7 separate regions of the Homo sapiens genome follow, and all the other regions are linked to region 1. The links are contacts of gene promoters, found by promoter capture Hi-C in blood cells and fetal thymus (Javierre and others, 2016). All regions are on one chromosome and are shown on one strand. Each heading gives the region's core, a stretch centred on a gene start or on the middle of the fragment in contact. The rest is flanking DNA. Distances are from core to core; before and after follow the strand shown. Region 1 holds the start of ZNF527 (zinc finger protein 527). Region 2 holds the start of ZFP14 (ZFP14 zinc finger protein). Region 3 has its middle 5.7 kb from the start of ZNF566-AS1. Region 4 overlaps ZNF260 (zinc finger protein 260). Region 5 holds the start of ZNF461 (zinc finger protein 461). Region 6 holds the start of ZNF790 (zinc finger protein 790). Region 7 holds the start of WDR87 (WD repeat domain 87).

Region 1 (3,502 bases), core at 517-3,016:
TTTTAATACTAAAGCAACAACAAACTGGGCAATCTGAAGTAAGTTCCTTGTCCTCTTAGAGCCAACATTTCTTCATTGTAAAAATAGAGACAGGCTGGGCACAGTGGCTCACACCAGTAATCCCAGCACTTTGGGAGGTCAAGGTGGGCAAATCACTTGAGACTAGGAATTCAAGACCAGCCTGGGCAACATGGCAAAACCCCATCTCCTCAAAAAGTACAAGAATTAGTTGGGCGTGGTGGCATGTGTCTGTAGTCCCAGCTACTTGGGAGGCTGAGGTGGGAGGCTTGATTGAACCCAGGAGGTAGAGGGTGCTGTGAGCCGAGATTGCACCACTGCACTCTAGCCTACAGGACAGAGCAAGACTCTGTCTCAAAAAAAAAAAAAAAAAAAAAAAGAAAAGAAAAGAAAAGAAAAGAAAGGGACAACTGTGGTTGACCTAGAATTCAGTATACATCACCCCCTAATTTCACCCCCTAATTCTGGACTACTTTGCACTAGGCAACTCAGTCCCTAGCAGTTATTTCCTTAGTGTAGTGCAGCTTGAAATTGTCCATAAAAACTGCAGCAGGGCGCAGCGCCTCACGCCTGTAATCCCAGCACTGTGGGAGGCTCTGGTGGGCGGATCATGAGGTCAGGAGTTGGAGACCAGCCTGGCCAAACATGGTGAAACCTCGTCTCTACTAAAAATACAAAAACTAGCTGGGCGTGGTGGTGCGCGCCTGTAATCCCAGCTACTTGGGAGGCTGAGGCAGGAGAATCACTTGAACCTGGGAGGCGGAGGTTGCAGTGAGCCGAGATCGCATCATTGCACTCCAGCCTGGGCAATAGAGTGAGACTCCATCTCAAGAGAAAAAAAAAAAAAAAAGCGAGACCTCTAGAGCTAAACTGCTTGGGTTTGAGTTCTGGTGCTGTCACTTGTTAACTGTGTGAACTTGGGTAATTCTAATATTTCTGTGCTTCATACATCAATCCCACAATCTCATATATACACACAAATTCTCACCCAATCACAAATGTATAGAGTCACACAAACACACCCATAATCTCACACAATACACAGCCACATAAGCACAAAGATAGATGGTAACATACAACTACACCAACAGAGATAAACAATCACACACAATCACACACAAAGTAGCATACCACAGAAGTCACACATCTTGTCACAATTACTGATACAAAACTATACCTGCGGAGACAGATGGTCATAGTCGCACAATCACACTTGCTGTCACACACATTCAAACGCAATTGTATCCGCAGAAACAGGTGGTCACATAACCACACACATGCATTTACACAAACACACAATGTCACACCCCAGTCTCTCATAAACACATACACAGCTACACCTGCAGAGACAGTCACACACAAACACACATATTCACAGTTTCACCCCCAGACACAGATGGTTACAGTCACACACAAGCGGGCGCACGCGCACAAACACACACACACAGTGACACAAGATCACATTCTGTCACACCCGCAGCCTGTCACATAGTTGGTAATACAGTGAAACACACACGGCCTCCCCAGCGACTCCTGCCGGGTTCCCATCCCTGGCGCGGCCGGGCCACCCGGAGCCCGCCCTTGACTTCCCGCTCCCGCCCGGGGCCCGGCCCCACTCACCTCCCGGCGCCGCGGGCTCTGCAAACGGGCCCCGCGACCGAGACCCGCGACGTCACCTCCCAGAATCCTCCGCGAGGAGGAGCGAGGCGAGGACTGAGGCATGCAGGACTCTGAGCTCTGCGAGATCTGAACCAGCGACACCGCGTTCCCCATGGACCCCGCGAACCACGAGCCCCAGAACGCTTTGCGCCACGGCCGTCATCGTTGAACTACATCTCCCAGAGAACCCCGCGGCCCCCTCCACTGCGCGCCTGCGCCACGGGGGCAGGTACCGGAGAGGGCTGTGTGCGGTCGTAGGCTCTCCAGTGACCTTGAGCTGCTGTGTTGGGGAAAGCGGCCAGGCTGCGCGCGGGGCTGACTGGTTGAATGCTTGGGTGTGGTGGTTCGTGTGTGACTGTTGCTGCACACCTTTATGCTTGCCGACGAAAGGAGCGGCGGATTTTGTCAGTGCAGGGAGCTTCTGTATTTTAAATCACGTCCCGTGATTGTGGGTAGCTGAATGTGAAAGTGATTGTGGATGAAAGAGACTGTGGCTGACATTGGGGGTGACCGTTTCTGTTACTGTGAGGATACCACTGATCCGATGTGTATCTGACTGTCTCCTGGTCTTACTGTTCCTTCACCCCCATCTCCTGCCATGGGCGGGGTCTGTGGTATCTTTTATTGAGGCAATCTCGGCGCTCACTGCAACCTCCGCCTCCCGGGTTCAAGCGATTCTCTTGCCTCAGCCTCCTGAGGAGCTGGGATTACAGGCACCTGCCACCACGCCCAGCTAATTTTTGTATTTTTAGTAGGGATGGGGTTTCACCATGTTGGCCAGGATGGTCTTCATCTCCTGAACTTGTGATCCACCTGCCTCGGCCTCCCCAAGTGCTGGGGTTACAGGCATGAGCCATCGCACCCGGCCTATTTTATTATTATTATTATTTCTCAATTGGTCAAAATAATATATTTAACATTTTAATATTATTAAACATACAAAAGGCCACACTTTGGCCCTCCTCTAGTCAAGCAGTTTCCTTCCTGGTGAAAGTCCATAGGCAGAAACATGCCTGCAAAGATCTCACAACCTTCTTTCAGACCATGCTCTGGGTATCCAAATCCCCAGGATTTCCTGTTCAAATGGACTCCAGCCTGCTTCCAGAGCCTGTATCTCCTCTGTGTCCAAAGACCCTTCCCTTGATCTGTCTTCCAAAGGTGGAATGTGCTGCCTATCCACAAAATGTGGCCAAATGAGAGCAATTTGGTAAGGCTAGACAGAGCTTAGATATGCAAGCTGGAGTGTCCACATGTGGGAATAGAAGACCTCTTACGATGTGGGACAAGGATGGCAGTGGGAACAGAAGGGGACTGGCTGGGGACCTCCATCTGTACTGTTGACCCAGGTCTCTACATGTCAATGACAGGCTCATTTATGTATAAACTATTTTGGAGACCAATGGTCTTATGATGATGGTGGTTTGAATTAGGGTCATCACTGGAAGAGGCAATGAGAAATTGTCAGATTGGGATACAGTTTGAGTGTAGAACTAACAGAAGTTGCTGATGCTTGGTTGTGAATATAGGGAAAGAGAGAAGTTCAATATAATGCCTAAATGTCTTGAGCCCCTGGAAAAATGGTAGTGTTATTTACTAAGATAGGGGAAAATGAGTATGTGGCAGTTATCTAGGATGGGGTGGGTGGTGAGGTATCATGTTAAGTCGCAGATGCTTGTTGGATTTCAAAAGAGTGATATCAAGTAGGCATTTAGATATATGTGTGTGGAGCTCAGTGAAATGTTGGTACTAGAGATACGAATTTGGGAATTTCAATTAAGATGCTTTTAATAGGAAGTTATACAGTTATATGCTCAACTGAAAGTAG
Region 2 (3,502 bases), core at 703-3,202, 990 kb after region 1:
CAGCCTGGCCAACGTGGTGAAACCCCGTCTCCACTAAAAATACAAAAAATTAGCTGGGCGTGGTGGTGGGCACCTGTCATTTCAGCTACTCAGGAGGCTGAGGCAGGAGAATCCCTTGAACCTGGGAGGCTGAGGTTGCAGTGAGACAGTATTGTGCCACCACACTCCAGGTAGGGTGACAGAACAAGACTTTGTTTCAAAAAAAAAAAAACTTAGTCAAAACAGAGAATATGGAGGAGCTATTTTAATAATTCTTTTTATTGTTTTTTTAATGGAGTGTTGATTTCCTTACATAAATTTAATTGTAAACATGTACATAGGACCGTGATTTTGAATTAAAAAAATACTTTGGGCCTTCGGCCTTCTTAGTAGTTTTTTTTGTTTTGTTTTGTTTTCGTTTTTGTTTTGATACGGCGTCTTGCTCTGTCGCCCAGGCTGGAGTGCAGCTGCACGATCTTGGCTCACTGCAACCTCCGTCTCCCTGGTTCAAGCGATTCTTCTGCCTCAGCCTCCCGAGTAGCTGGGACTACAGGTGTGCGTCACCATGCCCAGCTAAATTTTTTTGTATTTTTAGTAGAGACGGGGTTTCACCATGTTGGCCAGGCTGGTCTCAAACCCCTGACCTCAGGTGATCCACCCGCCTCGGCCCCCCGAAAGTGATGGGATTATAGGCGTCAGCCACCGCGTCTGGCCACCTTCTTAGTAGTTATAAAGTAGCTCAGATTTTTCATTTATCTCCTATTTCATGCATATCCTATTGTTTGCAAAATGAAACCAGATTGCCGAGGCATTTTCAAATATCTTCTAAAGTTTTATATTCTTAAGGAAAGAACAAATTCTTTCATGTATTAACTAATATATCAAAGAATTTGGGATACAGAAGATGCCTCAGGGTGGTCCCTGGTGGGCTTATCCCATTTCTTTCCTGAAGGAACGCAGGACAGGACAAATTCAGTCTCATTGGAGACAGACCTCTCCAGTTAGTCTTTTTCTTTTGAAACGGAGTTTCGCTCTTGTTGCCCAAGCTGGGGTGCAATGGCGGATCTCAGCTCAATGCAACCTCCGCTTCCCGGGTTCAAGCGATTTTCCTGCCTCAGCCTCCTGAGTAGCTGGGATTACAGGCGCGCGCGACCACGCCCGGCTAATTTTTTGTATTTTTAGTAGAACAATACATTCACAACTGCAGGAGATACGAGACACACACACACACACACACACACACACACACACACACACACACAGAGACAGAGACAGAGTGGGAGAAAGGGAGAGGGCAGTGAGCACGAGCGACCTTTCTAGGTTTACGTCCTGCTCCAGGTTCTGGTGGGCTTTGAGAGTATTTTCATTGCATGCCTGATGTGTGCCCACACCTTGCTTGGGTGTATGCAGTGAGTAACTGGTAGGTGTTTAGTACACATATTAGGCATCTGCTGGTGCCAAAACTTCTTTCTAAATCCTCCGCGGCTGAGCCTGGTGGCTCACGCCTGTAGTCCCAGCACTTTGGGAGGCTCAGGCGGGAGGATCTTTTAAGCCCAGGAGTTCGACACCGGCTTGGGTAACATAGGGAGATCTGGTCTCTATAAAAACTTAAAAAATGAGTTGGGCGTGGTGGCGCGCGCCTGCAGTCCCAGCTACTCTGGAGGCTCGGGTGGGAGGGTCGCTTGAGCCCGGGAGGTCGCGGCTGCAGTGAGCTCTAATCACGCCACTGCACTCCAGCCTGGGCGACAGAGTAAGACCCTGTCTCAAGAAAATAAACAAATAAAAGTCTTCCTCAGCGACAAAAGCAAACGCAAGCCCGAGCTCGCCTCAGCCCCACGCAGCGCGGAGGGCCTTCCCGCCCCGAGCGCACCCGGGGCTCCGGCCCCCGCGCATGCGCACTCCGCGCAGCCCGTTGGGGCTGGAACCAGTCCCTCCCATCGGCGGACTACATTTCCCACAGGCCTCCGCTCGCAGTTCTTTCCGGCTTCGCTGCTGGTGTCGGCTCCGAGAGGTGAGTTGGTCGCTTGCACCGAGGCAATGGGCGCGGGGGTGGCGCGGGGGCGGCGCAGACCTCAGTGTGAGCCAGGAGGCAGTAGCTGTGGAGTTTGTGGCGCTGACTGGGCGCCGGGTGCCCTGTTGCGTCCTCTGCCTTCTCGCTTCAGAGCCGCCCAGGTCCAGCGGCCCGGAATGGCTCCGAGTTAGATACAGGAACCCCGGAGTGAATGAAGGCCCCCAAACAAAAAGACGCAGTCTGAAGAACTGCAGATTGCACAGCTTTACCCGAGCTCCCTCCCATGGAAACTGCGGGGAACTCGGAGACAGATCCCAGCCCCGTCTTCGTGTACCTGGCCTTTCGCTCTGATACGGGAAAGGGTCAGCTTTATTCCAGGCTCCCTGTTATTTCCATCGGGTTTTGCGCGCAGTAGACGGAGGGAGCAAGTGCGCTAGCGGGGGTGTGTCCTGCTCAGCCAAGGCCGGCTCCAGGAAAGGCCCGCGGTCTCAAGATTCCCGTCTCCTTTCCCAATCCTGCTGTTCTTTAGGAAGGCAGCGGGGAGAGGAGGAAATGATTGCTGTTGCATATAGACAAGTCAACATCCAGATGAGTTTGTGTTTCCGTTTTGTTCCATGAAGTGTAATTTTTATTTTTTCTGGGCGTGGGGGCATTTGCTTTCCTCTTCTGTGGAATGAAAATCAGCTCGGACTGAACAATGAAGCAGCTCTGTCATTAATCAGGCTAGGAAGGAAGAGACAGATAAAGCCAGTTGCAAAATTAATAGAAAACATGATTTCTCCCCAGGTGGTGCAGTAGTTGTAAAATGGCATAATGACTCCCTCTTTGAGAGATTACAGTTTTCTTACCAGTGATGTTCTAGACTTGCTTTGCTGTTTTCATTTTATTACTGGGGATACCCTCTTGATTACACTCATGATTGCATTCAATATCTCATTAATCCCTGCCTCTCCTAATCTCACCTCGGAAACAGCAGCCATTCCAGATTGCAGCTGTCATTAGATCCTCCTTAGAATCTTTCAGCTGGAACTCAACCGTTTACGAAAGAGCTTTTCTCGTCTCTCTCGTCCATTCTATTCCAACCCTTCCTGTGGAATTTTCTCCCTTTCTGCCAGTCAATAGATATGATTTTGTCAGACTATGCGGGCTTGTTCCAGTTAATCTTCAGCTAGTTAGACTTTAACCCCTGAAATGTCCTGTCCACTGACCTGGTGCTTTGGCCTTCCTTCCCAGTGAATGATGGGGTGATGAAGGTAGATTCCAATTCCTACCCCTTTCCAGTAGGTTTGTTTTGTTTTGTTTTTTTTTGTATTTTTTGAGATGGAGTCTGGGTCTGTTACCCAGGCTGGAGTGCAGTGGCACGATGTGCTCACTGAAACCTCCGCCTCCCGGGTTCAAGCAGGATTCTCCTGCTTCAGCCTGCCAAGTAGCTAGAACTACAGGGATGAGCCACCGCACCCGGCCTCCAGTAGGTATTGACATGAGCATTTGGCAGTAATTTAGTTTCTCTTA
Region 3 (3,502 bases), core at 481-2,980, 880 kb after region 1:
GCAACATACAGATATCCGCCAGGCATCGTGGGCGTGGCTCCAGGAGGACTTCCTGCAGCCATGGAAGGAATCATCCCTGGAGGCGTCCCAATGACTTACAACCTCCTGAGAGTGACACATCCTTCCCAAGCTCCCCTTCCCAACCAGCCCACAAAACATGGGGACAATCGACAGCACCCTAATAAGCAATAGCAGAGAATGCCCAAAGGTAATCATTCAGATACACTTGGGACCATGAGCCAGTGAAAAATAGATGAACTAAGAGAAACAAATTATGGTCTTTTTAACTGATTCTGGACATAGGCATCATTGATGTTGCCGTGCTAAAACTACAAGAACTAGACAACTGAAGATGTCGTCTCTTATGGAAGTGCTGAAAGACTAGGATGTGATTTACTAACAACCGACTTCCGTTATTGTGTGTTAAGTTTTTCATCTGTGCATCAAATCCCAAATAATAAATGGAGCTTTTTTCTTTATCGGTCCCTTGGGCACAGGAGGTCCCGAACACCCTTCTCTAGGATGCTGCATTGAGAGTTCAAACATCGGGCCATGCGCAGTGGCTCATGCCTGTAATCCCAGCACTTGGGAGCCCGAGGCGGGTGGATCACCTGAGGTAAGGAGTTTGAGACCAGCCTGGCCAACATGGTGAAACCCCGTCTCTACTAAAAATACAAAAATTAGCTGGGTGTGGTGGCGAGCGCCTGTAATCCCAGCTACTCCGGAGGCTGAGGCAGGAGAATTGTTTGAACACAGGAGGTGGCAGTAAGCCAAGATCGTGCCACTGCACTCTAGCCTGGGCGAAAGAGCAAGACTGTCTCAAGGAAAAAAGAAAAAGAGTTCAAACATCAAATTAAAAAATATTAAGAGGAAAGCTTCATTCTGTGACTCTAGTCCCGTGACTGTAGTCCCTTCATTCTACAGGGGCTGTTTACCTCTTTTTGCTAGTAGCAAGATCATATAACTACAAAATGTGGAGAAACTGTTTGCCTGTGGTAGATACCTGCACACATAGGATTGAAGACAGTACAGGCTCCTGTGAGACACCTCTGTCCTCTCACATCTGTTTTTTTTGTTTTGTTTTGTTTTGAGATGGAGTCTTGCTCTGTCACCCAGGCTGGAGTGCAATGGCGAGATCTGGACTCACTGCAATCTCTGCCTCCCAGGTTCAAGCGATTCTCCTGCCTCAGCCTCCGGAGTACCTAGGATTACAAGTGTACACCACCACGCCCAGCTAATTTTTGTATTTTTGGTAGAGACTAGGTTCCACCATGTTGGTCAGACTGGTCTCGAACTCCTGACCTCAGGTGACTCGCCCGCCTCTGCCTTCCAAAGTGCTGTGATTACAGGAGTGAGCCACTGCGCCCGGCCCCTCACTCACATCTGAATTGCATACTGAGTGGGCAAGTTGGTTATAAGTTCAGTAAAACCCTCTGATGATGCAAAAAAAAGTATTATGTTTCACAAGCTGTTTGTACTCAAATACATTTTCTCAGTTTCAGATCCTTTCCTATTTTATTGAGTGGAAAGTCTTGAACTAAAAGTGTTCAGGAAGAATAATGTTGCATTTCCTTATGTCTCCTGAAACACTTTTTTTTTTTTTTTTTTTTTGAGATGGAGTCTTGCTCTGTCGCCCGGGCTGGAGTGCAGTGGCACGATCTCGGCTCACTGCAGGCCCTGCCTCCCAGGTTCACGCCATTCTCCTGCCTCAGCCTCCCGAGTAGCTGGGACTACAGGCACCCGCCACCATGCCCGGCTAATTTTTTGTATTTTTAGTAGAGATGGGGTTTCACTGTGTTAGCCAGGATGGTCTCGATCTCCTGACCTCGTGATCCACCCGCCTCGGCCTCCCAAAGTGCTGGGATTACAGGCGTAAGCCACTGCACCCGGCCGTCCCGAAACACTTTTAATGGTAAGTTGTCATATTGTCTATGAAGAAACCCATTTTTTTAAGACATTAATAAATTCTTCTTTTCTTCATGTGATACTTTATACAAGAACACTTCAGATGTATTAGATTTGACTGATTTTAAACAAATCCTATTAGATTTGTATCAACTAGTTACATGTTCTATTCATAGACTTTTGTGAATCATTGCCTTTTTGTTTAAAAAGATGGCCTATTTTCCAGGCACAGTGGCTCATGCCTGTAATCCCAGCACTTTGACAGACCGAGGCAGGCAGATCACCTGAGATCGGGAGTTCGAGACCAGCCTGACCAACATGGAGAAATCCCGTCTCTACTAGAAACCCAAAATTAGCCACGCGTGGTAGTGCATGCCTGTAATCCCAGCTACTTGGGAGGCTGAGGCAGGAGAATTGCTTGAACCCAGGAGATGGAGGTTGTGGTGAGCCGAGATCATGCCATTGCACTCCAGCCTGCCTGGGCAACAAGAGCGAAACTCCAACTCAAAAAAAAAAAAAAAAAAGATGGCCTATTTCAAGCCTTTGCATAGTACATTCCTGTTTTTGTGACAAAAGAAAAACTTTAAAATTGCCCCAAACAGAAAAATAATGGCTATATGTTTTATTCTATTTTAACTTTTTTTTTGAGATGGAGTCTTTGCTCTGTCACCCAAGCTTGAATGCAGTGGCATGATCTTGGCTGGCTGCAACCTCTGCCTCCCAAGTTCAAGCAGTTCTCCTGCCTTGGCCTCCCGAGTAGCTGGTATCACAGGTGTGTGCCACCATGCCTAGCTAATTTTTGTATTTTTAGTAGAGACGGGGTTTCACCATGTTGCCCAGGCTAGTCTCAAACTCCTGACCTCAGGTGATCAGCCCACCTCAGCCTCACAAAGTGCTGGGATTATAGGCGTGAGCCACCAGCCTGGCCCAGTTGATAGTTTCAACTATGTAAATCATTACACTGATTCCTACTGATCATTCTCATTGCCAGCATTCCTGAACTTAAATTGGCTCTGGAAATTCTCCAACCATAGTGAATCCTATTTTCTATGACCCCATAAATATTGGGCATTGTTGCGGTATGTTAGAATACGAGCCCGTGGTTGGGAAAGGCAGTATCATATATGCAGTCTTTCTACCTCTATGTGGCCACATAAGAATGACATCTGACCTGCAACATTTCCTTACCAAGAGATACGGATCCCACATGGGCTGTGCAATGTATTTGTGTTTTAAGCTAAGCGATATTACAGAAAAGTCAAAAAGCTTTTAAAAATTTGAACATTTATAAAGTAGAAAAGTTACAGCAAGCAAGGGTTAATTTATTATGGAAGAAAAACTTTAAATACATGTAGTGTTGCTTAAGTGTACAATGTTTATAAAGTCTAGAGTGTTGTACTGTAATGTCCTAGCCTTCACATTCACTCACCTCTCATCGACTCTCCAGAGCAACTTCCAGTCCTGCAGCCTCCATTCTTGGTAAGTACCCTATACAAGTGTACCATTTTTTACTTTTCATGCTGTTTTTTTTACTGTACCTTTTGTGTGTTTAGATATGTTTAGATACATAAATACTTACCATTGTGTTCTGTGGGCA
Region 4 (3,502 bases), core at 603-3,102, 850 kb after region 1:
TTATTTTTTTGAGATGGAGTCTCACTCTGTCACCCAGACTGGAGTGCAGTGGTGCAATCTCGGCTCACTGCCACCTCTGCCTCCTGGGTTCAAGCGATTCTCCTGCCTCAGCCTCCCAAGTAGCTGAGGTACAGGTGTGTGCCACCATGCCCAGCTAATTTTTTTATTTTTAGTAGAGACAGGGTTTCACCATCTTGGCCAGCCTGGTCTCGAACTCCTGACCTCAGGTGGTCAGCCTGCCTCAGCCTCCCAAAGTGCTGGGATTACAGGCGTGAGCCACCATGCCTGGCTTTATATTTGAAGTATAAGGGACTTGAGCATCTGCAGATTTTGGTATCCACAGTGATCCTGGAACCAATCTCCTGTGATATCAAGGGAAGATTATTATTATAGGACACTTACTATATTTAACTTCTCCTAGTTAATCTAAGTAAAATATTAGTCCTCTAAATTTTTTAGAGCTCTGACCTATAAATACCATCAGAATAATTTCCTGTATTTTTTTCCATATCACTCAAGGTTGGTTACTTCAGACTTATGAGAAAAGTGTTATGGGGAAAAATTATATGCAAAGATGTGACTTCACTCAGGAGCAAGGTCACAAGTGACACCTGCTCGAAGGAACCTATACAGGTTGTGATTGTGGATAACTCTGGCATCTTAGTCTCTCATAGTTTCTCTGTGTAACCTAAATTCTGAAAATAAGGTCCCTTCTGTTTCTCATTTTTGAAATGTTTAGAGCTTTTTTTTTTTTTTCCTTCCTTGAGATGGAGTCTCCACTGTCGCTTAGGCTGGTGTATAGTGGCGTGACCTTGGTTCAGTGCAACCTCTGCCTCCTGGCTTCAAGTGATTCTCTTGCCTCAGCCTCCTGAGTAGCTGGGACTACAGGCATATGCCACCACGCCTGGCTAATTTTTGTATTTTTAGTAGAGACAGGGTTTCACCATGTTGGCCAGGCGGGTCTCGAACTCCTAATCTCAAGTGATCTGCCTGCCTCGGCCTCCCAAGGTGCTGAGATTACAGACGTGAGCTTCCATGCCCGGCCATTGAAATGTGTAGAGCTTTTGAATGGCATAATGGGTCTGGCCTGAGGTGCTATGTACAAATACTGTTTTTCCATTTGCTCACATGTAGGTCAAAGCCAAAGAATCATCATTACTTTGTTCTTTTTCACAGGCCTGCTTCCTTGTATATCCACAGGAGCTGCAAAACCTCTTAGAGTTCTAAGGGCGCTCCCTGAATTTTGGGATGCTGCTTTGTTCCCCAACCATAACATCCAAGTCCAGTGTCATTTTTCTGCTCACAAGTTTAAAGTCAGCACTTAAAAGAACAGCAACAGATGATTGAGAAAGAAATGTAAAGAAGGTTCTCTTTGTGTGAGTAAGCAAGAACCTGGTAGGTATGAATGAGATAAAGACTTATTGCAGTTATTCAGTGAGAATTTGCAGCCTCTGAGTTGTTGTGGGGTTTTTTTGTTTGTTTGTTTGTTTGTTTTTTTGAGATTTTCGTACTAGCCTTTGTCTTTTAGAGTGACTGTTGCTGGGAATTCTTTAGATACCTAAATGACATTTCCAGACTGTCTTCCTGAATCTATGCATCCCTTTTATCAGATTCTAGAGGACTGATTGCTCTTCTAAAATCTATTCTGGATGCCAGTCATTCTACATCATTTGCAGCCTCAATTTTATGATTTTTTTACAGCCTCAATTTCACTTTTCTTCCTTTCACTAACATTCTCCATTTTTCACTTTTCCCTGTATGCCTAGATGCGTTTCCTTAAGCATTCAGTCCTTCATAGATCTGTTAGTTTTCAAAAACTAGCATGTCGTTAAGAGTCATCACCACTCCCTAATCTTAAGTACCCAGGGACACAAACACTGCGGAAGGCCGCAGGGTCCTCTGCCTAGGAAAACCAGAGACCTTTGTTCACTTGTTTATCTACTGACCTTCCCTCCACTATTGTCCTATGACCCTGCCAAATCCCCCTCTGCGAGAAACACCCAAGAATGATCAATAAAAAAAAAAAAAAAAACTAGCATGTAAGTTATTTTCTTTAAAATGTAATCATTCTGGCCAGGCGTGGTGGCTCACGCCTGTAATCCCAGCACTTTGGGAGGCCGAGGCTGGCGGATCACGAGGTCAGGAGATCACGACCATCCTGGCTAACACGGTGAAACCCCGTCTTTACTAAAAATACAAAAACAAAATTAGCCAGGTGTGGTGGCGGGCGCCTGTAGTTCCAGCTACTCAGGAGGCTGAGGTGGGAGAATGGCGTGAACCTGGGAGGTGGAACTTGCAGTGAGCTGAGATTGTGCCAGTGCACTCCAGCCTGGGCAACAGAGTGAGACTCTGTCTAAAAAATAATAATAATAAATAAAATAAATTAATCATTCTATGTATAACTATTATGTATCAATAAAAAAACTTTCAAAGACTAGCAAGTAGATTCTTTTCTTTACATTTTAACTTTCTATCATTCTTTCTCCTTCCATTGTTATATTCCTCAGAATTGAATTTTGCTTCCTTACTCTTGTTTTCTATTGTCTTCCTACCTCCAGCCATCATAGTTCAACACTATGTCACCTCCTGCTTTTTAACAATATTACAGGCTTAGGGATTAGTGCTGACTTCCTATTAGTTCATTACCCTGTTAATTTTAAAAAGAAATAATAATGGCTGGGTATGGTGGTGCACGCCTGTAATCCCAGCACTTTGGGAGGCTGCGGCAGGTGGATCATGAGGTCAGGAGTTTGAGACCAGCCTGACCAACATGGTGAAACCCAGTCTCTACTAAAAATACAAAAATTAGCCTGGCGAGGTGGCACACGCCTGTAATCCCAGCTACTCAGGAGCCTGAGGCAGAAGAATCACTTGAACCTGGGAGGCGGAGGTTGCAGTGAGCCGAGATCATGCCACTGCACTCCAGTCTGGGCGACAGAGTGAGACTCCCATCTCAAAAAAAAAAAAAAAAAGAAATAATACTATTATTATCAAAATTTAATATGTATACTTGATAGAAAATTAAAACAATCAGGTATGTCTCTTCATTCCTGGCCCTCAATCCCCTGTTTCCCAGAAGCAGCCACTGTTAACAGTGTCTGCTGTATGCTTCTAAATGTTTTTATGAGGATACAAAAAGGCTTTCAAGTAGAGCAGTGATGTGATTGGACTGTGACAAGATTACTGTGGCTGCTGTGTTGAGAACTGTAAAGAGTTGAAAGCTAAAGTAGCAAGACTGGTAAGGAGGCTGTTAAATAATCCTGGCAAGACATGTGGCTTAGACCTTGGTGGTCACAGTGAGGATTGTCCAAAATAGCCAGTAAGCTACGAGGTTGTAAAGAGTGTGCAATCTGACTGAAAGAGAAGTATTGTTTGAGCAGCAAGGAGAATGAGATTGCTATTTAAAGAGATGAGAAGAATTTGAGAGGAGTTGGTTTGGGAGCTGGAGCAAGAGTTTGAATAGGGGCAGGGTAAGTTAGATCACTATTAGACATCCAAGTGG
Region 5 (3,502 bases), core at 621-3,120, 700 kb after region 1:
ATGGATCTGTCCCTTCTGGCAGATAACATGTGCCAGCTTCCACTCCTCTAAGTCGGCTCTGGACTCTCACACACAAACATACACAGTCACCTCACACCGCTCCTATGCATACATCTAAGGTTCAGGACGCCCTGGTCCAGAGATCTGTCATTCATCCATCTCAGACCTTCCTGGTCGCAACCAGCTTCTTCCCTTCTCAGGGGCCGCCACAGTCACACTAGTCCTCTAATCATGGGTGGACCCAGCGCAAAAAGCCTCACACAGAATGTCACAAGATCCCTGTGCACGTGGCTGCGCTCCTGCAAACGTGGCAATCACACGGGTCCAGGTGGCCTCTCACATTTAAGCCACATCACGTATCACCCCCACAGGGGCCACTGCGGGAGTGGCGGCGCTCGCCGCATGAGCCCCACGCGGGCATATAGAACAGCCATTCTCAAAAAGCCTCAAAACCGTTTCACCACCCAGCGCGGTGGCTCACACCTGTCATCCAATACTTTGGCCACTGAGACGGGAGGATCGCTTGAGCCCAGGAGTTCGAGACCACCAGCCTGGGCAACATAGCGAGACCCTGTCTTTACCAAAAAAATAAAAATAAAATAAATCGTTTTGGCCTGACCCGGTGGCTCACGCCTGCTATCCCAGCACTTTGGGAGGTGGATGCGGGAGGAGCTGAGGAGGTGGAGACTGCAGTGAGCTAGGATCGCGCCACCGCAGTCAGCCTGGGCAACAGGGCATGAAGACCCTGTCTCAAAAAGAGGCCGGGCGCGGTGGCTCACGCCTGTAATCCAGCACTTTGGGAGGCCGAGGCGGGCGAATCACGAGGTCAGGAGATCGAGACCATCCTGGCTAACACGATGAAACCCCGTCTCTACTAAAAATACAAAAAATTAGCCGGGCGAGGTGGCGGGCGCCTGTAGTCCCAGCTACTCGGGAGGCTGAGGCAGGAGAATGGCGTGAACCCGGGAGGCGGAGCTTGCAGTGAGCCGAGATTGCGCCACTGCACTCCAGCCTGGGCGACAGCGAGACTCCGTCTCAAAAAAAAAAAAAGAAAAAAAAAAAGTTGAGTGAAATATATGACGTACAGTTTTTTGTTGTTGTTGTTGTTTGTTTTTTCTTGCCCGGGCAACAGGGCAAGAAGACTCTGTCTCTAAATAAATAAATAAATGGAGTCAAATATATGACATACAGTTTTGTTTGTTTGTTTGAGAAGGAGTTGCTCTGTCGCCCAGGCTGGAGTGCAATGGCGCGACCTCGGCTCACCGCAACCTCTGCCTCCCGGGTTCAAGCGATTCTCCTGCCTCAGCCTCCCGAGTAGCTGGGATTACAGGCATGCGCCATCACGCCCGGCTAATTTTGTATTTTTAGTAGAGACGGGGTTTCTCCATGTTGGTCAGGCTGGTCTCGGTGATCCGCCCGCCTTGGCGTGAGCCACCGCGCCCGGCCAAAAAAAAAATTTTTTTTTAAATCGTTTCACATACAAATCTCACGCGCTACACCCTCACCGTCAGTTCATATCCACCTTCTCCTCCGGAGTCACCTTCGGACACGCGCACAACAAAACACCTTTCTCACCACAACTCCACAAAGGGAAGCCGGGTTAGTCCGCGCCCGCCGAAAATTATCTTCAGCCACAGCCCGCGGAGGCCGCCTTGAGGGGTTCGGGGCAGCCACTGTGCCTATTCCGAAATCCGTCCTCAGCGGAACCCGAAGTCCAGAATCCGAAAACGAACATTAACAGGTTGGCGTCACTCCAGCCTCGGGTGAAACTGCGCAAGTGCATCCCGGAGCCCGGCGGAACACACCCGCTCCACCCCAGGCGCTCTCCCCTCGGACTGCATTTCCCAGAGGACACTGCTGTCCACAGCTACTTCCGGTAGGAGCCTCGCAGGAATGGTCTCCGGGTAGAGGCAGGTAAGGATGTCCCGGGCCGGTGGAGAAGGAAGAGCTGGGCGTGTGGCTTCGCTTGGAATCCGAATCAGAGCTTGGACCAGAGCCTTCCCTGAGAATGCTGAAGGTAAGAAATCCTGGCTCACCAGTGCCGCGGAAGGGAATGTCTATAGTTTTAGGCCTCTGAGTGCGGGATCAGCCCTTAGGTGGGTGTGTTTTGAATGCGTGAGGAAGTAGGGTTTCTCTTTGGGCTGTGTGTTACTGTTGGGACAGCGACCTGGTGCGTGGGTGTGCTTTAGTGACAGTGTGATTGTGTGCCTGATCATTTGTGTAAATGGGGTTTGTAGGTGACTGTGACCATGATTGTGAATGGCTATTTGTGTAAATCTCATTTATTTACGTGAAAGAAAAAGCACATTTACAGGCCGGGAGCGGTGGCTCACCCCTGTAATCCCAGCATTTTGGGAGCCCGAAGCGGGTGGATGCCCTGATGTCGGGAGTTCGATACCAGCCTGGCCAACGTGGAGAAACCCCACCTCTACTAAAAATACAAAATTAGCCGGGTATGGTGGTGCATGTCTGTAATTCCAGCTCCTTGGGAGGCTGAGGCAGGAGAATCGCTTGAACCCGGGAGGCGGAGGTTGCTGTGAGCCGAGATCGCGCCATTGCACTCCAACCTGGGCAACAAGAGTGAAACGAAACTGTCTCAAAAAAAAAAAAACAAAAAAACATTCACGTTATCCTCAGGCTCACACGATCAGGCAGAGAGCTTCCACTCCTCTCAGTCAACTCTGGTCTCTCACACACAGACACACGCACATTCACCTCACCCCGCTCCTGTGCACACATCTAAGGCTCAGGACGCCCCACTCCAGAGATCTGTCATTCATCCATCTCTCATCCTTTCCTGACTACTTGAGGAGTTAGCTGTAGATTTACACACACAACACAAGCGAAAATCACATTGCTACCCCGCATTTATCATTACAGCCTCAGAAAAACACCACATATGTAGTATGCTTATGTACCTATGTGTTTGATTTTTTTTTTCTGAGATTTGGCCACAATACACATTGTTCTGCAACTTCCTTTTTTTTTTTTTTTTTTTGAGACGAAGTTTCTCTCTTTCACCGTGGCTGGAGTGCGGTGGCGCGATCTCGGCTCACTGCAACCTCCGCCTTCGGGTTTTAAGCAGTTCTCCTGCCTCAGCCTCACGAGTAGCTGGGATTACAGGCATCCGCCACCACACCCAGCTAATTTTTGTATTTTTAGTAGAGACGGGATTTCACCATGTTGGCCAGGCTGGTCTTGAGCCCCTGACCTCGTGATCCGCCCGCATCTGCCTCCCAAAGTGTTGGGATTACAGGCGTGAGCCACCGCGCCCGGCCTCTGCAACTTCTTACTAAAAGATATTTATGTCCTTTTGTCTGTATTCAAAGACAAACTTAAGAATATTTTTCAGGATGTTTCCAGGTATGATTCTTCTTTAATTCTTACAGCACTGTACTTCAAACTAAAGACTCAAGAATTTATTTTGGTCTGCAAATTTTTGTTCTATTTATTTTTTCTCTTCCATCTGTGTTGTTTCAGCCTCTATTTTTGAAATTTCTGT
Region 6 (3,502 bases), core at 413-2,912, 530 kb after region 1:
ACAGGGTACCCCTATAGGGCTGGGCATGTAGCTGTGTCCCATGGATCGTTTCCCCTTCGTTCTATCCCAGGCTGGTACTTGTGGGACAAGAGGTGTCCACCCAGCCGGGCCGAGGCTCGGGCAGAGACGGGACAGACTCGCCACTCGCTTGGCACAGTCTTGTAGGACTTTCCCGCCATGCCACATAGGTCAGAGGCCCACGCAGCGAGCTCCTACTGAAAACCATCGCACCATCCCCCCGGGGCATTTCTGCAGTGTTCCAGGCTCTGGACTACATTTCCCAGGGCCGTCGGGACCAAGGTTACTTCCAGCCTAAGATGGCCTGGGCTTACTGTCCTGTTCCCAGGGCTGGGAGCCTTTTGCAGAGGTAGGGCAGCCTGCATGCCTCCGCTGAAGCTTCCTAAACGCGGCCTGGAATTCTGGAAGCTCTCGGCAGCAGATGTGAGCGGTGTGTGGGCGATGGTCTTTGCCCAGCGAGGGGATGGGGCTCAAATGCAGGGTCCGTTAATGGTGACCGCGGTGTCCGGGGCAGTTAAAGACGGCCCAGGCTCCGGACTACATTTCCCAGAGTGCACCGTTCCCCGGGCAACTTCCTGTCAGCCCTCTGTCCCTTTAGGGTTAATAGAAAGATCGCGGAACCTTCCACCATCAAGGGACCGCAGGGCCGGGTGAGTGATTCCGAGACACAGAAGCCGAATGACTCCGGAGGGCCCGAGGCCGGGGCTGAGGGGAGTGAGGTGCTAATGTCTTTGGAGTTGGTGGCTTTGCCGGCGAGGGAGCGTGGGGGCGAGCGATCGCGATGGGAGCAGTGGATGCGAGAGTGAAATTGATGCAGGAGCTGGGGCCGCGACGGGAGCTTGTGTGTGTGTGTGTGTATGTGTGTGTGTGTGTGTGTGTGCGCGCACGCGCACACGACGTTGACAGGCGCTGTGTGTGACCCTAATGGACTATTTAAATGTGACTGTATGTACGTGATTATGACTGCGTCGCGTTGTGCGTGACCACGTTCGTAAAGGTGGTGATAGCAGCCGCTATGGGGCCAAAAACAAAGAATTGAGCTTTGCGTTGAGTGACAGGCATAGTCCTTCGTGAATGTGTGGGGAGCAGTTTTTGTGCTGGCCCGTAGCTGGATTGGAGTGGGGGCAACCTAGAAGGAGGGGAGAAGAATGGGACACAGTGTAGACAACATAGTTCAAGAGTTTCTCCGTAAATTAGAGCAGAGAAATGGAGCAGCAGGTTGGGGTAGAGGGCTGGGGAAGACGGCTGGGGAACAACCACCCATCAACATGTTGTTGGAAATGAGCCACGAGAGGGGGGAAAAGTCCAGGCAAGGGTAAGTAAACAAGGCTCATCTGTGTGGGTGTAGTTAAAAATGCAAGAATTAAAAAAAATAGAAAAGGGTAATCGCGCTGCAGAGAGTAAACCATGAGCTGAAGATTTCAGATATAGGGGGAAAATACCCTGTGTTTGGTAGAGGTCAACAAAAGTGAGATGTGGTGAGTTATATACAATCTCATGGCAGGAAATTCAAAACTAGAGTTTGTGGAGGGAGGAAGAAAGGTCTGAAGGTAGTGAACAACAAGGAGGCCGGCCATCTGTTCCATTTTCAGACCCACTGGTAAGAGGCTGTAGCTGGGGAAATGTTGAGAGGGCTGCAGAGTCCTCCAGATACAGCCTAGTTTCTGTTAGACTCAGAATGTTAGGGCGTGTTCAAGGAAGTGGTTGAAGATAAAAGAGGAGTTGGTTGTTAATGAATTATGAATTCCATTATGAAGGCATACAGGAAAAGTGTTGAAAGTTGGGAAGAATGAGAAAAGGGGACAAATGAGACTTGATGGTATACAATGTCCGAAAAGACAGTTGACTAGAAATTCTGGGACTTCTTATAGTAGATAAATATAAATACAAGGTTGGATTGACATTTATTCTGGTTGGATTCAAGTCAGTTTTGGAGAGATAGCGTGGGATAGTGAAAGATGATTTCTTGAGTGTGAGAAACAAACTTACCCGTCCCAAAGAATGGACTCAGAGACCCGGAGAACAGCAAAAGTGAGACTTTTAATGATGGTCTTGCAAGATCAGTGTCTGATAGGCACACCCAACAGTTTCAACAAGCAATTTATCCCCTAGTGCACAGGTTCCTCCCCTGGTTCCTCATAGGCTGATAACTATGGGGTCACAATCTTCCCGGATGTTGCCTATTGATTGTTGGGTAGGGGCTTCAGGTGTTTTGTTTTTTGATTTTTGTGAGACAGAGTCTTGTTCTGTCACCAGGCTGGAGTGCAGTGGTGCAATCACGGCTCACTGCAACCTCCGCCTCCCAGGTTCAAGTGGATTCTCCTGCCTCAGCCTCCCGAGTAGCTGGGACTACAGGTGCGTGCCACCACGCCCAGCTAACTTTTCTATTTTTAGTAGAGATGGGGTTTCACCGTGTCGGCCAGGATGGTCTCGATCTCTTGACTTTGTGATCCGCCCGCCTCGGCCTTCCAAACTGCTGGGATTACAGGCGTGAGCCACCGCGCCCAGCCGGTGTGTGTGTGTGTTTTTTTTTTAGGCTTGTCTTGCTGCATTTGGTTGCGGCCCACAATGCACTGCAATCCTAGTTAGCTCAAGGTCTCTTCAATAGTTGACTTATGACCTAAGCAGCTGGGCAGGCTGATAAAAGCAGACAAAATGAGCTATTTTGCAGGCTAGCAAACTTTCATCTTAGACTAAACTTCTTTGGTTTGGGTGAAGGCAACTAAGTGGGGGAAAGGGAGAAAGCGGGAGGCTGACAAGCAGGCATCATCTATCCAAGCAGGGGCCTAGTATATCCTGTTTCTTCTGTAGTTTGCTTACCTAAGCCAATTCAAGGCATTTTGTCTTGGAAATGGACCACTGTATACATTATTTCCTTCACTGAGTATCTCTCAGAAAGAAGGAAGCTTAAGATAGAAGGGGGGTCAAGGTAGGCAGAATGATGGCCCTGCAACCAATGTTTACTTCCTAATCCCTGGAAACTAGGACGATGCTACTTTATATGGCAAAAAGGACTTTGCAAAGGGGATAAAGTTAAGAACCTTGAAATGGGGGCGATTATCTTGTTGGACTAATATAATGACATGGGTCCTTAAAGTCAGTGAACCTTTCCTGGCTGAGTTTAAAGTCAGAGGGAGATGTGACCGCAGAAGAATGGTCAGAGAGATGCCACATTGCTTACTAGATAGAGGAAGTGGGCCTTAAGCCAAGGAATGTTGGTGGCCTCTAGAAGCTGGAAAACATAAGAAAACGAATTCTCCCCTGGAGCTTCCAGAAAGGAACACAGCCCTACCAACACCTTGATTTTAGCCTAGTAAGACCCAACTCAGACTTCTACTGAACTATATGATAATAGATTTGTATTATTTTAAGCCACTACCTCATGGCAGTAGAAAACTAATACAGTGGTGTAGTGTCTTGGCCTCAGTGTTGTGGAGGAGTCTTGATCCCTGTGACATAAGGGGACCTCAACCTCTGTTGATTA
Region 7 (3,502 bases), core at 715-3,214, 540 kb before region 1:
CACTAAACATGAATTATCTCCTGGAACCATCCAAACAATCCTGGCACAAAAGTCCTATGACTACCATTCCACAGATGGGACACTGAGGATGGGAGCAAATGTGTGGGGGAGCTCAGGGCTGTCATGTCACAGCCCACAGTCAGGCAGTCTCTGGGCCAGATGGAGAATATTGAAGAACAATTATAATACATAAGAGCTGCTACTTAGTGAGAGATGGCGCTGGACTAGAAATACAATCTCAGCAAATCCTTACAACCCTTTGAGAGTGATCTTGTTATTATCCCATTTTGTAAATGAGGAACCTGAGGTAGTAGGAAGGGAAGTCAACTGGACCAGTTCTGAATCTGGCCCTCGGGGGTGACCAATACTACGGCCAGAGCCCCACCCTCAGAGGGTCTCTGGGCCACTAGGAAAACGCTGAATAAATGGTACCATTTACTGAGCGTTATATGCCAGCTGCTGTGCTAAGCACTTTACACATGGTATTCTCACTGCATCCTGAAAACAACTCGACGAAGTGGTTGCTATTTAAATCCCCATTTTATAGATAGGGAAACCAAGGCACAGAGAGGTGAAGCCAGTTGCCCAAAGTCACACAGCTGGTAAATGTTCAAATTTGAACCTGGGGTCTCTCTGCCTTCCAAACCAACGCTCTTAACAAAATAATCTCGGTTAACAGCAGCTAGCCTGCATTGGGTGCTAACTAAGGACTCACCTCTTTACATGCACACGCTCAACTAATCCTCACCCTATGCAATCGATAACATCTTCACCTCATTTTTCGGAGAGCTAACAATAACCCAAATACGTAGTAAGTGCCTCCTATGTGCCAAATGTTTTATTATATTATCTCAACAGAGTCTCCGCCAAGATGCTCTCCTACTCCGTTTTACTGCAGGGGAAATTGAGGTTCGGCGCGGTTTTCCCAGATCGCGGCTCCCGAGTGGCACAGCCGGGACGCGAATCCACCGCTCCCCGCCTCCAAGCTCTTCACCACAGCGCCGGGGTGCACGCCTGGAAAGTTGAGCCATGCGGGCACGAGTCCGGCTGGGTCCGGAGGGCGCGAGTCCCGGCGCCGCCGCCCCCCACGGCCAGTACCCACACCCGGCCGTCCGCCCGCGCTGACCCTCGGGGTCCGGGCAGCCACCGATTCCCCGCCACCCTTGCGCGAGGCCGATCCTGCACCCGGAGCCACGTACCTGGACGCCCCGGCTGCCCGCCTCGCGGGCCCCACGATCGCGGCGTCCAGCTCCGCGCCGCTCGCTGGAGACGCCGCCAGCTCCGGTGGCCCGAGTGACTTCCAGGCTGCCCACTTCCAAGCCGCTTCGCGCGAGTCCTCCTGGGAACTGTAGTTTCGCCCTAGCCGGCCGCGAACTCAAAAAGAGAATGGCGCGCGGGGGCTGCCGGGAGCCGTAGGCGCACCGCCGCGCTGCCTCCTAGGAACGGTAGTCCGCTGGTCGCCTTCGTGCAGCTCCAGTCTGTAGAGCACTTCCGCAGCCCCGAGGGGCGTGAGGGAGGGAGGTGTGTCTCCTGCAGACTACAGCTCGAGAGCCGCGCTCTTCGCCCCGCCGGGGCGGTTTCTCCTTTCTCCTGGCCCCGTCTACCTCCTCCCTTCATTCGGCGGAACCTCTCCCTCACTCTCTGCCAGGCTCGAGTCACTTACCCCTAGGACGCTAGCCCGGGGGAAACGGGGGAAGCGGAGCAGTGCGCTAGACCCCCAGCGGAGGGGGCGGTGGAGGAGGGCGTAGATGCACGCCCGCGCACGCGCGGTCGTCGGCAGACCCCGGCCTAAATTGCCGCGGGACCCCGCGGAGAGGATTTTTTTTTTTTTTCTTTCGAGAGCGCGCGCGCGTTCTCGCGCCGGGCGCGCGCCCATGCGCACGCGCGTTCAGACCCCTGGCCTCGGGAAGTCCGCCGGCTGCGGGGTTGGGGGCCAACCGTTCTGTGGGCGGAGTCCTCTCGCAACATCCGCCAGGTAGCTTCTTAGTTGCTGCCCCTAGCTCTAGGAGCTCCTGAGTGCACACGCCGTACCCGTCCCTTGTCGGGAATCCTGTCGCAGGTAACAGGCGCAGCCAATGCTTTGAGATAGAGACGCCCTGCCTTCCCTGCCACGTGCAGGAGGCCCGAGGGTGAGGGGCCCCAGGTGTAGTCGCCTGTCCCCGGCGTAGGCGGCTCCAGAGCTCTGCCTTCGACGGGAGCCACAAGACCCAGGGGCTGCCTAGGGGCCTTGTTATCTTGCATTCTTTTGTTGATCGCACATTCCTGAGGGTAACTAGTGTTTGTAGAGTACCTACACCTTGGGAAATTTTGTCCAAATTTAATCCACCTGGTGACATAACCAAGCAGCGGAATACCCCGCAACACACACTCCTTTTTTAAGGTATATTGCCACTCCTCCATAAGAGTTACCGAGGGAATTGACTGGAATTGCAAGGTCCTCTGGTGGAGAAGCCGGAGTCAATACCCTTTCCGCCTCAGCCTGCCTTCTAGGAAGATGTTCACTAACACTTGAAGCTGGGAAGCATATGTTTCTTCCTGGGAGAGCACATTTTTCCACTCATTCAACAAAAATGGATTAACCACCTATTCCATGTCAGGTTGGGTGATTATGGAGACACAAGAGAAATCCAGACAGACTGGACTCCTACCTTCAGGGAGTTTTCAGTCCAGTAGGGATATCAGGCCACCACCAGACTACAACAATGTAGAGCAATACTAGCTAAGAGAAATATACCCTGCACTTTGAGCCACCGAGGCAGGAGGATCACTTAAGGCCAGGAGTTGGAGACTGGCCGGGTAACATAGCAAGACCCTATCTCTACTAAAACTAAAAAACTAGCTAGGCGTGGTGGCATGTGGCCATAGTCCCAGCTATTTAAGAGGCTGAGTATCGCTTAAGCCCAGGAGTTTGAGACTGCAGTGAACCATGATTGCACCACTGCCCTCCAGCTTGGGCGACAAAGCAGAACCCTGTCTCTTTAAAAAAAAAAAAAATTATATATGTGTGTGTTTTTATGTGTAATGCAAGCCACATATGCAATTTTAATTTTGACATAAACAGGTAAAATTCATTTTATTTATCATTATTATTTACTTTTTTTTTTCTTGCTATGTTGCCCAGGCTGGTATTGAACTCCTGGCCTCAAGACATGTTCCTACCTCAGCCTCGCAAAGTGCTGGGATTATAGGCGTGAGCCATCTCACCCAGCTATGAAATTAATTTTAATATTTTATTTAACCCAAATATATCCAAAATATTATTCCAAGTTAGGTTAATGGAAAAATGTTTTCATTGCTTCAGTTCTACTTTTTTTTTTTTTTTTTTTGGAGACGGAGTCCCACTCTGTCGCCAGGCTGGAGTGCAGTGGCGCCACCTCGGCTCCCTGCAACCTCTGACTCCCTGGTTCAAGTGACTCTCCTGCCTCAGCCTCCCAAGTAGCTGGGATTACAGGCAGGCGCCATCACACCCAGCTAATTTTTGTATTTTTAGTAGAGACTGGGT

Evidence for each region. Contacts are between HindIII fragments. The CHiCAGO score rates a contact against its expected background, and 5 or more counts as called.
Region 2: the fragment with the promoter of ZFP14 here is called in contact with the fragment with the promoter of ZNF527 in region 1 in 15 of 17 cell types (naive CD8 T cells, neutrophils, non-activated CD4 T cells and 12 more); the score reaches 21.8 in naive CD8 T cells.
Region 3: a contact is called between a fragment that was not itself captured here and the fragment with the promoter of ZNF527 in region 1, in 1 of 17 cell types (monocytes). The highest score is 5.3, in monocytes.
Region 4: a fragment that was not itself captured here is called in contact with the fragment with the promoter of ZNF527 in region 1 in 1 of 17 cell types (monocytes); the score reaches 6.0 in monocytes.
Region 5: the fragment with the promoter of ZNF461 here is called in contact with the fragment with the promoter of ZNF527 in region 1 in 10 of 17 cell types (naive CD4 T cells, non-activated CD4 T cells, total B cells and 7 more); the score reaches 7.4 in naive CD4 T cells.
Region 6: a fragment that was not itself captured here is called in contact with the fragment with the promoter of ZNF527 in region 1 in 1 of 17 cell types (neutrophils); the score reaches 5.3 in neutrophils.
Region 7: a contact is called between the fragment with the promoter of WDR87 here and the fragment with the promoter of ZNF527 in region 1, in 1 of 17 cell types (activated CD4 T cells). The highest score is 5.1, in activated CD4 T cells.

The regions. Positions count from the first base shown.
Region 1 is chr19:37,369,363-37,372,864 of GRCh38, reverse strand. ZNF527 (zinc finger protein 527) reads right to left here and starts at 1,766. Exons shown (of 5, transcript NM_032453.2): 1 at 1,639-1,766. RefSeq lists a silencer at 1,367-1,676 and enhancers at 1,707-2,016, 2,187-2,236, 2,257-2,396. The HindIII fragment of the contact is 7,295 bases long and covers 1-3,502 here.
Region 2 is chr19:36,377,651-36,381,152 of GRCh38, reverse strand. It overlaps ZFP14 (ZFP14 zinc finger protein), which reads left to right and starts at 1,952. Exons shown (of 5, transcript NM_020917.3): 1 at 1,952-1,990. RefSeq lists a silencer at 1,756-1,845. The HindIII fragment of the contact is 12,200 bases long and covers 1-3,502 here.
Region 3 is chr19:36,493,603-36,497,104 of GRCh38, reverse strand. It overlaps the pseudogene CTBP2P7. Among named protein-coding and RNA genes, the nearest start is that of ZNF566-AS1, 5.7 kb to the right of the region's middle. The HindIII fragment of the contact is 1,705 bases long and covers 878-2,582 here.
Region 4 is chr19:36,523,048-36,526,549 of GRCh38, reverse strand. It overlaps ZNF260 (zinc finger protein 260), which reads left to right. Exons shown (of 3, transcript NM_001166037.2): 2 at 1,177-1,395. Among named protein-coding and RNA genes, the nearest start is that of ZNF260, 3.5 kb to the left of the region's middle. The HindIII fragment of the contact is 4,081 bases long and covers 1-3,502 here.
Region 5 is chr19:36,665,205-36,668,706 of GRCh38, reverse strand. It overlaps ZNF461 (zinc finger protein 461), which reads left to right and starts at 1,870. Exons shown (of 6, transcript NM_153257.5): 1 at 1,870-2,017. It also overlaps a transcript of ZNF567 not described here. RefSeq lists an enhancer at 1,564-1,693. The HindIII fragment of the contact is 6,595 bases long and covers 1-3,502 here.
Region 6 is chr19:36,835,503-36,839,004 of GRCh38, reverse strand. ZNF790 (zinc finger protein 790) reads left to right here and starts at 618. Exons shown (of 5, transcript NM_206894.4): 1 at 618-668. The HindIII fragment of the contact is 2,528 bases long and covers 399-2,926 here.
Region 7 is chr19:37,905,056-37,908,557 of GRCh38, reverse strand. WDR87 (WD repeat domain 87) reads left to right here and starts at 1,964. Exons shown (of 6, transcript NM_001291088.2): 1 at 1,964-2,059. It overlaps SIPA1L3 (signal induced proliferation associated 1 like 3), which reads right to left and starts at 1,350. Exons shown (of 22, transcript NM_015073.3): 1 at 1,200-1,350. RefSeq lists an enhancer at 639-698 and a silencer at 999-1,238. The HindIII fragment of the contact is 21,411 bases long and covers 1-3,502 here.